Regions from separate parts of the Homo sapiens genome. Here regions 1, 2, 3 and 4 are each linked to region 5. The links are contacts of gene promoters, found by promoter capture Hi-C in blood cells and fetal thymus (Javierre and others, 2016). All regions are on one chromosome and are shown on one strand. The core of a region is centred on a gene start or on the middle of the fragment in contact, and the rest is flanking DNA. Distances in the headings are between cores, read along the strand shown.

The links. The method cuts DNA at HindIII sites, captures the fragments that hold promoters and counts their contacts. A CHiCAGO score of 5 or more calls a contact.
Region 1: a fragment that was not itself captured here is called in contact with the fragment with the promoter of PSMA4 in region 5 in 1 of 17 cell types (fetal thymus); the score reaches 5.9 in fetal thymus.
Region 2: a contact is called between a fragment that was not itself captured here and the fragment with the promoter of PSMA4 in region 5, in 1 of 17 cell types (fetal thymus). The highest score is 5.2, in fetal thymus.
Region 3: a fragment that was not itself captured here is called in contact with the fragment with the promoter of PSMA4 in region 5 in 9 of 17 cell types (fetal thymus, activated CD4 T cells, non-activated CD4 T cells and 6 more); the score reaches 13.5 in fetal thymus.
Region 4: a fragment that was not itself captured here is called in contact with the fragment with the promoter of PSMA4 in region 5 in 1 of 17 cell types (activated CD4 T cells); the score reaches 5.1 in activated CD4 T cells.

Annotation. Positions count from the first base shown.
Region 1 is chr15:78,121,251-78,123,950 of GRCh38, forward strand. CIB2 (calcium and integrin binding family member 2) reads right to left here. Exons shown (of 6, transcript NM_006383.4): 2 at 2,455-2,489. Among named protein-coding and RNA genes, the nearest start is that of CIB2, 8.8 kb to the right of the region's middle. The HindIII fragment of the contact is 8,738 bases long and covers 1-2,700 here.
Region 2 is chr15:78,265,617-78,268,316 of GRCh38, forward strand. The region is part of intron 1 of DNAJA4 (DnaJ heat shock protein family (Hsp40) member A4); the gene reads left to right. Among named protein-coding and RNA genes, the nearest start is that of DNAJA4, 2.4 kb to the left of the region's middle. The HindIII fragment of the contact is 1,398 bases long and covers 731-2,128 here.
Region 3 is chr15:78,146,893-78,149,592 of GRCh38, forward strand. IDH3A (isocitrate dehydrogenase (NAD(+)) 3 catalytic subunit alpha) reads left to right here and starts at 2,470. Exons shown (of 11, transcript NM_005530.3): 1 at 2,470-2,538. The coding sequence starts at 2,512. LOC124903534 (a long non-coding RNA gene) reads right to left here and starts at 2,327. Exons shown (of 2, transcript XR_007064725.1): 1 at 2,216-2,327; 2 at 1-840. RefSeq lists a silencer at 2,430-2,700. The HindIII fragment of the contact is 1,753 bases long and covers 501-2,253 here.
Region 4 is chr15:78,056,692-78,059,391 of GRCh38, forward strand. All of the region lies in intron 1 of TBC1D2B (TBC1 domain family member 2B), which reads right to left. Among named protein-coding and RNA genes, the nearest start is that of TBC1D2B, 20 kb to the right of the region's middle. RefSeq lists an enhancer at 194-313. The HindIII fragment of the contact is 3,960 bases long and covers 1-2,700 here.
Region 5 is chr15:78,539,190-78,541,889 of GRCh38, forward strand. It overlaps PSMA4 (proteasome 20S subunit alpha 4), which reads left to right and starts at 1,255. Exons shown (of 9, transcript NM_002789.6): 1 at 1,255-1,350. RefSeq lists enhancers at 1,293-1,402, 1,511-2,403 and a silencer at 1,483-1,752. The HindIII fragment of the contact is 17,328 bases long and covers 1-1,380 here.

The sequences.
Region 1 (2,700 bases), core at 40-2,539, 420 kb before region 5:
ACAGCTCCTGCAAGCAATGTCATCCCCATGCTGCAGACGGGGCCTCAGGCTTGGGTTTTGCTCTGGTGTTGAATTACAGAGCCTAGGGTCCTGATGCGTGCAGAGGGGTGCAGGCCAGGGCTGTGGGGAGCCAGGACGCCTCTCCTCAAGCCCTCTCACCTGCCTGGAGCCCCTCATTTTCCAAGGGGCCAGGGATACCCCTGATATGGTTTGGCTGTGTCCCTACCCAAATCTCATCTTGAATTGTAGTTCCCATAATCCCTACGTGTCATGGGAGGGACCTGGTGGGAGGTAATTGAATCATGGGGGCAGTTACCCCGAGGCTGTTCTCATGATAGTGAGTTCTCACGAGATCTGATGGTTTTATAAGGGGCTTCTCCCCCTTTGCCCAGCACTTCTCTTTCCTGCCGCCATGTGAGGAAGGATGTGTTTGCCTCCCCTTCTGCCATGATTGTAAGTTTCCTGAGGCCTCCCCAGCCATGTGGAGCCATGAATCAATTAAACCTCTTTCCTTTATAAATTACCCAGTCTCAGGCAGTTCTTTATAGCAGCATGAGAATGGACTAAAACAACCACCAAAGGCCCATCATATTGGATCGGATTCCCGGACTGGCCTTCAAGCTCCTCTCTCCTCTTCCCCACACAGGCAATCTTGCTGCTGTCAATGAGACCACGGGAGGATGGGGGTGGGAGTGGGAGCAGGAGAAGCTGGCCTGTGTCTCACCTCTGCTGCTCCCCAGCCTGGAATGTTCTCCCTCAGCCAATCCTACCTGTCTTTCACCCACACACTCTTCATATGGTCACTGGTGGCTAACAGGTGCCATGCTCCCTGTTAGTCCTGCCTGATCACAAGTCTGGTGGGGAGCTGGGCCCCTGGGTCCAGGAACCCAAGGAGCCCCTAACAGGCTGTTAGAGCAGCTGGGATAGCACTAGGGTGGCAGGGTGTTGGGGGTGCTTATAAAGGAGATGATTCTGGAGTTGGGTCTGGAAGGATGCATAGCAATGCTGTGGGCAGAGGAGAGGCGAAGGACACTCCAGGGAGTGGAGATAGCCAGTGCAAAGGCCGAGGCAAGGGGCTTTTGTTGCCAGAATGAAAATGGCCGTGGGCCTCAGAAGACAGGCAGCTTGGGCTTGGCATCTACAAAGGTAGGGAACCCGAAGCTCCCTGTGAGGCTCAAATGAGGCTCCATGCCAAGAACTCTGAAAGGTAAAAGGTGCCACAAGAATGCCAGGGGTGACAGCTTTGTTATTCCAATACCGAGAGCCATCCTGTCGAAATGGGGACCTCACCCCTGACATCTCTCAAGCTACAGGGCAAATCCCACTTATCAAACACTATACCCCAGTGTTGCTGCCTCTCGGCAATGCTATGAGGGTAGGTTTCACTATCCCTATTATACAGAAGAAAACTGAGGCTCAGGGAAGGTCAAATGGTTGCCCAAGGCCACAGATGCCAGGTCTACTGATGCCAGGCCTGGAGGCTTTGCCCCTTGCTCAGACTCTCTAAGGTGGTGGAAGTGGGGTATCCCCTGCCCATGCAGGTGACAGGTTGGAATAGCAGCCTGGGTAGAGAGGAAAGCCGAGAGGCACTGCCTGAATGAGCAGAATGGTTAGGGCAGTGACAAGCTGCAGCACAGCTCTCTTGGGAAGCTGCAATGGGCTCTGGTCCCAGCCTGACCATCGATCTCCAGGGCAAGTGATCCTGGGACTTTGCTGGCTTTTAGTGCCACCCAGGCAGAGGGGCCTAGTGAGGCCCGTGGGGCAGTTTTCTTGGTATTCAGTGATTCCTGCTCACCCACTGGTCCTGGGGTTCTGAGGCTGCCGATCCCCTTTATCTTTCCCATCCAGGTCCACCCCCACCCCCATCAACACCAAGGAGAAGGGCTGTCCTGGGAAGAAGCAGAGCCCTGATGAATAGCTCAGGGGTGGTGGCCATGCCCTCAACTTTTAGACGTCCTAGGAGTGGAAGAACATCAAAGCTAGAGCCAAAGGGCCCTTAGGGACCCCTGGTCTAACAGACAGGGACTCCCTGCTATACCAGGACCCAGGATGCAGTGAAATAGCAAGGGACCTGGAGTCAGAGGCTGGGTCTTGAGTCCCTGGCTCTGTGACTTTAGCCAAGTTGCTAAGCTCCATCTGTCAAATGGGGATAAATGGATTCTCTTGTTACAAGGTCACAATGAGGATTAAATAAGAATGTGCCGGAAACTACCCACCTGAAAGCTCATAGTAAGTAGATGTTCATTCCCCAGCAGGAGGATCTGGGCCCTGGGAGGAGTGGGAAGCTCTAACTCCATCCTAGCCCAGTGGCCGAGTGGGGACCTGAATGTGGCTCCTGATACATGCTGATGCTCTGCCTCAGCCCCAGGAGCACAGCCAGCCCATGTGGGGTGCCCCAGCCTCACCCCGGCCCCAGTCCCAGTCCCAACAGGGTGAACGAGAAGCCACACTTACTTGAGGATGTCCTTCTTATTGAAGAAGGTGCAGTCCTGTTGAGGGAAAACACACAACACACAGTCAGTGTGCGGCTCCCAGACTTTCTTCCTCAGAGGCCTCGATGCCACAGGGCTCACAGGGGATAGCTCCGGACTGGGGACAGAAGAGTCACTACTATCCCTTTCCACCTTGCCCTCACCCACTGGGGACAGCTGGCTCTAGTAGGTATAGAAAATGCCTCCCAAAACCTTTATCCATCCTGGG
Region 2 (2,700 bases), core at 180-2,679, 270 kb before region 5:
TTTCCATCCTGTTTACAGAAAGTTTGCTTTTTATCTCTAAAGAGGCTCATGACCCACCTGAATAGGTGAATTGAAGGATGAGGCATTGCAAGGAAAGGCTGCTAACCCTCCCGTTCCTCCTTTCACTTCTTGCCATTTTCTTACAAAACTTTGGTTGTTCCGCATGGGTCTTGAGAGGTGGGGCCGTTATAGTAGCTGATAGCAGTGTCACTTGGGCCACGTTTGAAACCACACCAATCACCCATGTAGCATTTAAGACCTGTGGAAACGACGCTGGAATCAAAATACCTGTCTGTGTTAGTTGTTCCAAGCTGGAGAAAGCTACTTCAGGACGGTTGGCTGAATGGCAACAGTGATGGAATATTTATATTTAGCCACATGTGCTGAATGTGGCTGTCACAAGTTTAAAATGCTTTCCTGTAAGACCATTTGTCTGTTACTCACTTGCGTTCTTTCTCATCTATATTTAGATGGCTTACTGTAGCTTTTAAAGGCACTGGCGTTTTACATGGTGCTGGTGATTCATCCACCTGCTCCCTACATTCATTGTGGTCCGCTTCTGACAGTCTCCTTTAAGGAGAGCTTGTAGGCTTCTAATTTCACATTTCAGCAAGCTGGCTAAAGACATGTGGGAAAGCCTGACCCTGGATTCAGGTCAAATCTCAGCACTCACAAGAGTAAGTTCATGCCTCTGTGTATACAGTTAGAGCTGAATATGCTTTTGTTCTGAAGCTTTTATTTTTAAAAAATTAGACTTGACCTGTACTACATATGTGTAGGTTTCACCCTGTCTATACCTGTCTGGGCAGGTTGTTTGGTTTGTTTTAAACTAATATTTATTCATAGCCAGGCACTGAGTTAGTGTCACATAAATGAGGCCCTTGGCAGTGAGGTCTGGCAGGCCCATCAGCTTGGAGGGAAGGGTTCTGTGATGTGCCCATTGCCAGGAATACTTTCCTTCCTCTACCTTCATGGAAGGGGATAAAACTCTTTAGTTCTCAGCTAAAACATCTTCCAGGAGGCTGCCTCTGCCTCATAGACTGAACCACAGGCCCAACGTGCATCCTACTTTAATGGTGATTACTTGTTTGATTAACTGTATTCCTTTAATGGTGATTACTTGTTTGATAACTGTATTACCTGCCATAATGTAAGCAGGGCAGTGACTGTGCCCCCATGGCCACTTATGGGGTGAGTATCTAGCTGTGCAGGGTAGGTGCTAAAATGTTTGTTAGCTGGCTGAGTAAATGCACTTTAAAAAATTGTGTGTAGGAGGAGAGGGCCCTATAAAGGCACAAATTGGAAGGGAAATTGCAGTGAAAGGGATATTGGGAGGAGAGTGGCAATTTAGATCGGAAATCAAAGAGGATGAGGAGACTGGGGACACAATTTATAGAAACGGCTGTAGAGTTCCCCAGAGAGAGCTCATTCATTCATTCATTCATTCATTCAACAAATACCTCCTCTTCTGGTCCCCACTGTGTGCTGGGTGCACTGTGCAGGCCTTTTGTGAGTGTGTATGTGAGTGTGTGTGTGAGTGTGTATGTGAGTGTGTGAGTGTGTGAGTGTGTGTGTGAGTGTGTATGTGAGTGTGTATGTGTGTGTAGTTCTTTTCCACTTTATCACAGGTAGAACCTTTAAATTTTTTTTTCCTCCTAAGTTCGTCACTGTATTATTAACGTCTCTTCAAAAATAGACTACACCAGTTCTTTACCCCTTGCTGGGAAAACTGAGAAGGCCGTTGAAATGTTGGTCTTTGTTTTTTGCCCTGTTGTCCCCTGTTGCTAAGCATTGGGGCACCTTGTGTTTTTTGGGCACTCTGTATGGAGTCTGTACTTCTCTGCGGGTGTTTTTTTTTTGTTTTTTGTTTTTTTTGCAAGATGCATGGGTGGTAGGTAGTGGGTCACCAAGATAGTCCCTTTTAGGGGCAATGATGTGGGGTATATTCTTGGCTATTACCCTGTTGAGATGAGTTTGGTCTTTTGGTCAATTTCATTGTAACTTTTAGTTTGAATAATAGACTTTCAAGTTCAAAAATCAGAACATAGCAAACCATGCAGAAAATTTTAGAACACAGAGGGAAACCTACCAAGTACACATTATCCTAACCACTCTGTGCTTCTTTCCAAGCTTTCCCCAGTATGATCATACATGGCCATCCTGATACATAGACATTTTGTTTTCTTGTTTCCACTTAATATTTTATTATAAGTACTTTTCCCAAGTTGTTACGTAGTCTTCAAAGCCATTTTCCCCTCAGCTGTATAGTAATCCTGTTAAGGTTCTGTGGCAAATGATCATGGTCTGAAAGGCAAGCTCATCATAGCACTCGTCTCCCACTGGGAGAAGGGGGTCCGGGCCGGGAGCTGAATTAGACTTTGGAGTGCTGGGACCCTAGAGGATGGACTCCCTACTGGTAGTTGGAACCCCCATCCCATGTGAGATCTGGCCTCTGACTGAATGTCCCAAGCAACTGGGTACTCCTTTTCCATTCTTAGATCATTCTATTAAGTCTAAATGACATGTGAGTATCCAGGGTATTTGGTGAGTGTTTCCGGTGGACGTTCCCATGAAGTTATTTACCTAGTCCTGACCTGCAGATAGACGCAGAAACTGTCTAGGGGCAGCCTGGCCTAGTTGCTTTCTGATCTGTACCAGGCACCCAATCCTTACACTCTACCTCATGTTTTCTGCTGAGGA
Region 3 (2,700 bases), core at 127-2,626, 390 kb before region 5:
AATGCCAGCATCATCACTTACTAGCTGTACTTCAGTTTTCTCATAGGGTTGTTGTGAAGATTAAATGAAGACTGGACAAAGTCAGTCAATGTTTATTTCACAATCACTGAGCAGCAAGTATTCCTTGTGTACCAGTCTCTGTTCCAGAAACAACGTCATAAGAGATCATCAAGATTATCTCTGGACTTAAGGCATATCTTCTCTCTATCTCTTTTGAGACAGAGTCTCGCTCTGTCACCCAGACTGGAGTGCAGTGGCATGATCTCGGCTCACTGCAACCTCTGCCTCGTGGGTTCAAGCGATTCTGATGCCTCAGTCTCCTGAGTCACTGGGATTATAGGCATGTGCCAACACGCCCAACTAATTTTTGTATTTTTAGTAGAGACAGGGTTTTGCCATGTTGGCCAGGCTGGTCTCCAACTCCTGACTTCAAGTGATCCACCTGCGTCGGCCACCCAAAGTGTTGGGATTACAGGCGTGAGTCACCACGCCTGGCCCAAAGCTTATCTTCTCAATGGCACACAGCAGAAGAGAATGTGATGTTTCCCAGGAGAGGTGGGAGCCAAGTGCTAGAGGGCTCTGAGTAAGGAGAGGGGGACACATTCGTGGGTCTTGGGGGCTTTTACAACTTTTACTACTTCCCAACATGTAAGCTGAGTCTTGACAAGGAGCTAGAATTTCAGCCAGTAGAAGTGGGGCAAGAGGGCATTGAGGCTGAGGGAATGGCACGACCATAGGCACGGAGAGGTAAAATATGGGAAGCATTTGGGGGCTGGCCAGCAGTCCTAGTTGGCAGGCGCTCCAGGTCTTTGGGGCTGGAAGGAGTGGTGGGAAATCAGGCTGAAAAAAGACAGTGGTGTGAGAGGAGAGTGCAAGGGAGAGCCAGGAGGTTTCAGAGCCGGGGCGAGCCCTGGTCAGAGCTGTGCCTGAAGGGGAGGGCAGGTTGGCAGGTGAAGAGGCTGTTGTAAGAGCCTGGGCCTGAGGTGGTCTGGCCCGAAGGAGGGCAGGGGTGACATTGGGGATGGAGGAACTGTGGGAGAACACTTCAGGATGGGACTGCCAGGGCCTGATGAGGGGAAGGGGCCCAATGGAAAGGGGTTGATAAAAGCCCTCCTTCCTGACAAGGCCACAGACTTAGCTGCAGTTTATTATTTAGGTCATAAAAGCTCTTGGGATCACTTCTCTACTGCACTCATCACCTCTCTGGGTGGGTAGGCAGCTCCTCTCTGGATAGAACTCTTCCCAGGGTAGGGTAGCAGAGACCTGGTTTAAACACCTGACCTCCCCTGGCACCCAGCTAGAGGCCTGGCCATCAGCAGGAACTCAGGAGTTTGTGATGGACAGGGAGAGGACAAGGGGAAAGGTGAGTATGGATGTTATTTCTTCAGAGAAGCATTCCCTGACCTCCAGGTTAGGTTTGAATCAGGTTGCCTGATTTTGCCTTGCCATAGCTCCTTGCTCTTTTGCTTCTTGGCGCAACAGTTTTAATGACATGTGTGTGACACTTGATTGAAGCCTGTCTTTCCTACTGGACACTAAGCCCCAGCACTTAAAACAGTGCCTGGTGTCTAGTTGACCCTCAGAAATATTTGTTGAGCTAAATAGACAGATTAGTAGTTGCCTGGGATTGAGGACAGGAGCGGGATTGACTATAAACGGACACAAGGAACATTTTCATATGCTCAAAAACTGGATTGTGGTGATGGTTGTGCAACTGTTTACATTTACTAAAAATCATCAAACTGTACACTTACAGTGAGTAAATGTTACTATATATACATTATACCTCAATAAAGCTGGTAAAAAATAAAATTCGGCCAGTCGCAGTGGCTCACTTTGTGAGCCTGGGGCAAGCAGATCGCTTGAACTCTGGAGTTCCAGACCAGCCTGAGCAACATAGCGAGGCCCCATCTCTACGGAGAAAAAAAAAAAAAAAAAAAAAGAAAAAGAAAAGAAAAAACAAAGTTGGGCTGGGCTTAGTAATTACTTGATCCCAGGAGGTCGAGGCTTTGTAGTGAACCTGTTCGCGCTACTGCACTCCAGCCTGGGCGACAGAGTGAGACCCGGTCTCAAAAAAAAAAAAAAAATCAAAATTTGTGGAATAAGAAAATTATGTGTCTTTCTCCACGGGATTGTAAATTCTATGAGGAGCGCTATATCCCCAAGATCCTAGAACATTAATCAGCACCTAGTAGGTGTGGAACAAACGTCTTACCTTAACAGCGAGTCAATGAACCAGGGAGGGGAGGAAGAAGCTTTCCCGGAGATGCCGGCCCCTCAGTTTCCGGGTTCGCCTGGCGCTCAGCCAGGCCAGTCACAGAGAGACGAGCCCGGCGATTCGCCAGCGGAATGTCCAGGGGCGGGGCAGCGAGCGAGCGCGAAGCAATCCTGAGGCGGTCTAGGGGGCGGGGCGTTCAGGGGGCGTGGCCGTGCAGGGGCGGGCTCCGAGCGTGGGGTGGGCGCTTGCGCACTGCCGCTGCGGCTGTTGCTGCGGAGCCAGGAGGGGAAGCGATGGCTGGGCCCGCGTGGATCTCTAAGGTGAGCGCTGGCAGGCCGGCGTGTGGCAGGCAGGCAGGCCGCGAGGGCTGGCAGGAGAGCCGGTCGCGTGCCGGGTGTGGGCGGGCGCGTGGGCCAGACAGGGAGGCGGTGGCTGCCCGCGGGGACAGCTTGGGAGCCGGTCCTGGTCGCCCGTGCCCCGCG
Region 4 (2,700 bases), core at 57-2,556, 480 kb before region 5:
TTTTTTTTTTTTTTTTTTTTTTTTTTGCAGATGAGGGGACAGAGGCCCAGAAAGGGAAGTGACTTGTCTAGGTCATACAGGGAGTCAATACTGTGAGCCCAGTCTGCCAAACCCCCAACCCTTAGAGGCAAGTGTGTGTTTGGGTGGGGGAATGTGCGTGTGTGGTCCTCCCACCAGCTCCCTGACTACCTGGCCCCTCCATCCCCATGCCACAGGTGAGCTAAGCACCCTGGGAGCCTTCTGCTCCAGCCAGGGAGGTGCCCAGACACTTCCTCTTGTTCAGCCTGCATATGCAGCTGTGTTTCTATTTATGCTCGGGAGCCACAGGCTGCTAGAGAAGCTGGCACATACTCACTAGGGCATATCTGAACCAACCTCTCCAGCTGCCTCTGACAATGCAGGCACCATGAAAAATCTGCTTTTTACAAGAAATCCTTTTCACTTTAAATCTTTGAGTATTAAATGTAACTGGGAAACAATCAGTAACCTCTGAGTCATCTCTCACTAAATTCCTGAGGCAAAACTTTTAGATCACATGCTTTCAATGACTGATATTTTATCATATTGTAGAAATTTGGTCAATAAGATGGGCAAAATCTGGTTAACAAGTCAGTTAATCAAGACACTGATTAACTGGGTTTGTTTCCTTTCAAAAAAAAAACCTAAACAGGCTGCTATGGCGGCTCACACCTGTAATCTCAGCACTTTGGGAGGCCGAGGCAGGCGGATCACCTGAGGTCAGGAGTTCGAGACCAGCCTAGCCAACATGGTGAAACCCCGTCTCTACTAAAAGTATTTTTAAAAATTAGCCAGGCGTGGTGGTGGGTGCCCGTAATCCCAGCTACTTGGGAGGCTGAGGCAGGAGAACTGCTTGAACCCAGGAAACGGAGGTTGCAGTGAGCCGACACGGTGCCACTGCACTCCAGCCTGGGCGACAGTGAGACTCTGTCTCAAAGAAAAAAAAAAATCTAGAGATCACTAGAAGACTTTTGACTTCAATCCCCAATTAGCTAGTAAAAGGCTGGGGGCCAGACTGTCTGAAATGGCTCTGGGGCATGTGCTTTGACAGAAAAGCCCCAAAGGGCCTTTTCTGAAGACAGCTGAAACCCAAAGACAGAAACACACACAGGTTCTAAGACTGAGCACCACTAAAAGTACAACACAGCAAAATCAGCAGAAATCCAAAAAGCCTCTGCGTTTTTTATCTGGTATCTTTTAGCAAAGGACTAAATGGAGATTCGGCTCAGGCCTAATTAAATGTATAATCACAAACCAGCCTCTTTATCGCCCCAGTCCCAGGAAATTGGTTCAGATCTGCCCTGTACCAACACAGTAGCCCTAGCCAGACGTGACTACTGAGCACATGAGAGATGGCCAGTGCCACATAAAATCTTTTGGATACACTGAATAAATACGATAGTATTAAAATTAATTTTACTGGTTTAATGTGGCTCATTGAAAATTTAAAAGTATATTATGTGGCTCACATCTTATCTTTACTGAACAGTGCTGGTCTACACTACAATGGCAAATATATTCCATTTTGAGAGCCAAGGTTGGTGGGAGATCTGGCTTGGCAGGAAACAGTACCTCAGGATTATAACATAAGCCAAGGGCATGGGGTCCACGGGGGTGTGGGGCAGCCAACACCATTGCCCTTCTACAGCACTTTACAACTCAAGATAACTTCTCTCTTTAAACAGGCGCCTCCATATCTCCAACCACCCCATGGTCCATTAATGTCCAAGGAGAGGCCAACATTCTTTAGGAACCCAGGCATCTGCTGGTCTGGCCCCAGCTATAGTGCCTTTATTCAGTGCTCCAAAAGTGGGGCGAGTAGGACCTTTGAGTGATCTGGCTGCACAGACAACGCCTTGCTAGGTCTATCACCAGGAGTTCCCTCCGCTGAGCCTCAGCTCAGCTGGTGACAATGAGCCAGTCAGCGCAGAAGCTAACGGCCAGGACCACACAGCATTCACCAAAGACACGCCCGCCGGAGGAGTGAGGACCGGGAAGGATCACCATCTGCCCCCCACCCCTCAGAATGACCAAAATGCTGTGGTCCCAAGTTCTGGAGAGCCAGACAGGCATTCCACTCATGCTAGAAGAAACAGTGACAAGGCAGAGCTCCACAGATCAGCAGAGAATTGGGAGCCGATGCCAGGCAAGCACCCAGCAAGAAGCCAGGTGCTGGTGTGTGCTGTCTGATGCCTTACCTAGGCCAGCTCCTGAGTCTCCCCTAACACCCGTCTCTCCAGCTCCTTCCTCCTCACCCTTCAAGGTCCAATGCAAAGGCCACCTCTTCAGAGCAGGTTTCCCTGACCTGGGTGTGCATTTTGTCTCCCCTAACACCAGTCTCCTCAGCTCCTTCCTACTCACCCTTCAAGATCCAATGCAAAGGCCACCTCTTCAGAGCAGGTTTCCCTGATCTGGGTGTACATTTTGTCTCCATTCTCTGAATAGGGAGCTCAGAGAATCTTGTAGCCCAGGTAACCCTCCCATGGAGGTGAGGGCACTCCCTGTGTGTTCCTCACTAACCCAAGTTCCTTAAAGGCAGAGACCAGACCTGCTGGTCTCAATACGATCCAAGATGTCTTGCACAGTGTCCTGAATATAAACACTCAAATATCTGACTCATCCTCTCATGTTCAATTGTTGCTACTTCCTCAATACTGCTGAAATCCCAGGTCAAATATGGCA
Region 5 (2,700 bases), core at 5-2,504:
GCCCAGTGGGCTGCTTTTTGGGAGAGACTGTGAGCAGATGACTTCATATTAACCCAGATCTAGTCAACCTTCTAGCCTGAAAAAACCTAAAATGCATAGTAGATAGTTTACATACGGACCGAGGCTGAATGAGCAAAAAGGTGGAGAGATGGATAATGAACACAGAAACAAGTATGACAATTTCAGTAAAGAAGATAAAATGGTGCGAGTATATGCTGACGGTAGGGTATTGCTTTAACTGTGCTGGTCAGGGAAATCCTTTCTGACTGGTGAAAAGCAGAGAAAGAGACCAAGGTGAAAATTCCCCCAAAAGTGTGAACCTGATCATAATTTTTTTTAATTTAATTTTTAGAGCCAGTGTCTTTCTCTGTCACCCAGGCTGGAGTGCAGTGGTGCGATCATAGCTCACTGCAGCCTCCAAACTCCTAGCCTCAAGCCATCCTCCTGCCTCAGCCTCCCAAAGCGGTGTAATTACAAGCATGAGTCACCATGCTCGACCCTCATCATAATTTTTTTTTTTTTGAGATGGAGTCTCAGGCTGGAGTGAAGTGGCGCACTCTCGGCTCACTGCAACCTCCGCCTCCCGAGTTCAAGCGATTCTCGTGCCTCAGCCTCCCAAGTAGCTGGGATTACAGGCGTGCACCACACACCCGGCTAATTTTTGTTAATTTTAGTAGAGACGGTTTCACCATGTTGGCCAAGCTGGTCTCGAACTCCCGACCTCAGGTGATCCACCCGCCTCGACCTCCCAAGGTGCTGGGATTACAGGCATGAGCCACCCGGCCTTCCTCATCATAATGTGTATGTCCAAAATGTATGCATCAGCAGTAAAAGTGAAAGCCAGAATGAAAAAGGAAGGTGATGAGAGGGGTAAAGTCTCATGTGGTTGGAACCATTTTGGGAAACAGGACAGGAATGATAGCAATTAAGAAGCCGGTCCACACTATTTGCTATCCTAGGTCTGAATAGTGAAGAGAAAATGAAAGGAGAGCGCCAAGGGTAAGAGAAAGAAATTAGCTATTCCACCTCCTGGTTGGCTACTGTCTTCCTGCCCTCTTCCCCATGGCACAGCAACTCCTCCACCTGCTGAGGACCCTAGCCTAAGCTGCAGCGCCCCAGAGCCTCAGCACCCCCGCGACCCAGCTCCCACGAGGGGCACGGGTTCTAGCTCCGCCCCGCAAGAAGGACTTCCGCGTCCTCGGCCGTCCCGCTCCCCCCGCCCCAACCCAGCGGTTCTGCGCATGCGCGGGGGCCATATTAGCAGCGGTTATTCGGTGAGCGGTGGTGGTTTATTCTTCCGTGGAGTTAAGGGCTCCGTGGACATCTCAGGTCTTCAGGGTCTTCCATCTGGTGAGCCTTTGGCCCCTTGGGGCCCGCGGAAGCTTGGCCGCTTTCCCATTGGGCGGGGGTCGTGAACGTCAAGACAGTCGGTCCCGGCCTGCAGTTGCCGCCGAGGAGCCGTGGGCACGATGACTCTGCACCGCCTCCTCTGTGACGGACCGACCGCCGGGAATGGCCCCCGCCGGCCGCCGTCGGGGGCTTCCCAGTGCCAAGCCTGGACGCCGGGGCCCGCGAGGGGGCGGGCTGAGGGTGGGGGTCTGTGGGCAGGACCGAGAGTTGGGGTGGCTTCCGTCCTCAGGAGTTCGGTACGTGAAAGTTAGCTCTCCCGGAGGTGCCGGTGAACTCAAAATAGTGCTGTGCCCGGCGTCAGGCGTGGAGACAACAGAAAGTTGTGCTTAAAGCTCGAATCAGAAATCCCCGGCGAGTGTCTCTGTGTCCTCCCTGCTTCTCTGCTCTGTGCCATCCTTACTTTGCACCATTCCTATTGCAATTACCTCAACCAGTTCGCTGCCCTCGGTCTCTCACCAGCCAGAGTGATCATTTAAAATGCCAATCAGTTCCTGTGGGCCTTGGGAATCATTCAGAGGAGCCCCATTGGCTGAGAGATAAAATTCTGTTTTTACCTGGGCACGCGGGCTCTCCAGGATTTGATTCCAGCTTACCTTTCCAGTCTTGATTCCCTATATTCCAGTATTTGGAAATGTGGGCCTTGGACTGAGGCTTTACCAAATAACGCTGAACACCTAGTATTGCCTTTTGCACGAATGGTACTGATGGTGCCCAAGATAACTGCCTCCACCCCCAAGTTCAGGACCCAGATCACTCTCTGGAGAAGGCCTCAGCCTCTTGCCTTGGCTTTCAAGGCTCTGCGTGATTTGGATACTCGCTTAGCTCTTATTTATATATATTTTAAAAGCATCAGCAGTTTATCTCATGCCCACTAAACTATCCTGCCTCCGTACCCTTTGTTCATACTTTCTGCTCTGTGTGGAATGCCCTTCTTTCTTCCCCTGTTCTTTCTCTTAGACCCAAGGGTTCTCAGCCTTATTTCTGCCTCTCCCATCTCTGATTTACTTTCATTTTCTGTATCGATTTCTCAAAAAATACTTTCTTGATTCTTTCATCATCCCTTTTCCCACCCTACCCCCGGTTCCTCTTTCCACATTATAATCTATGACTGCCTCTCTCACCTAACTGCCAGTATTAGCTTTTCAGGACAGGAACTGGTTTTACACATTTTGGTATTCCAGCATCTAGCATAATGCCTGACACTTAGCTGAATAAAGGGAGTAAATAAAACAGATTTGTAAAGTCAGCAAATGCTTTTTAATTTGTGAATCTTATTTTAATGATGATCTG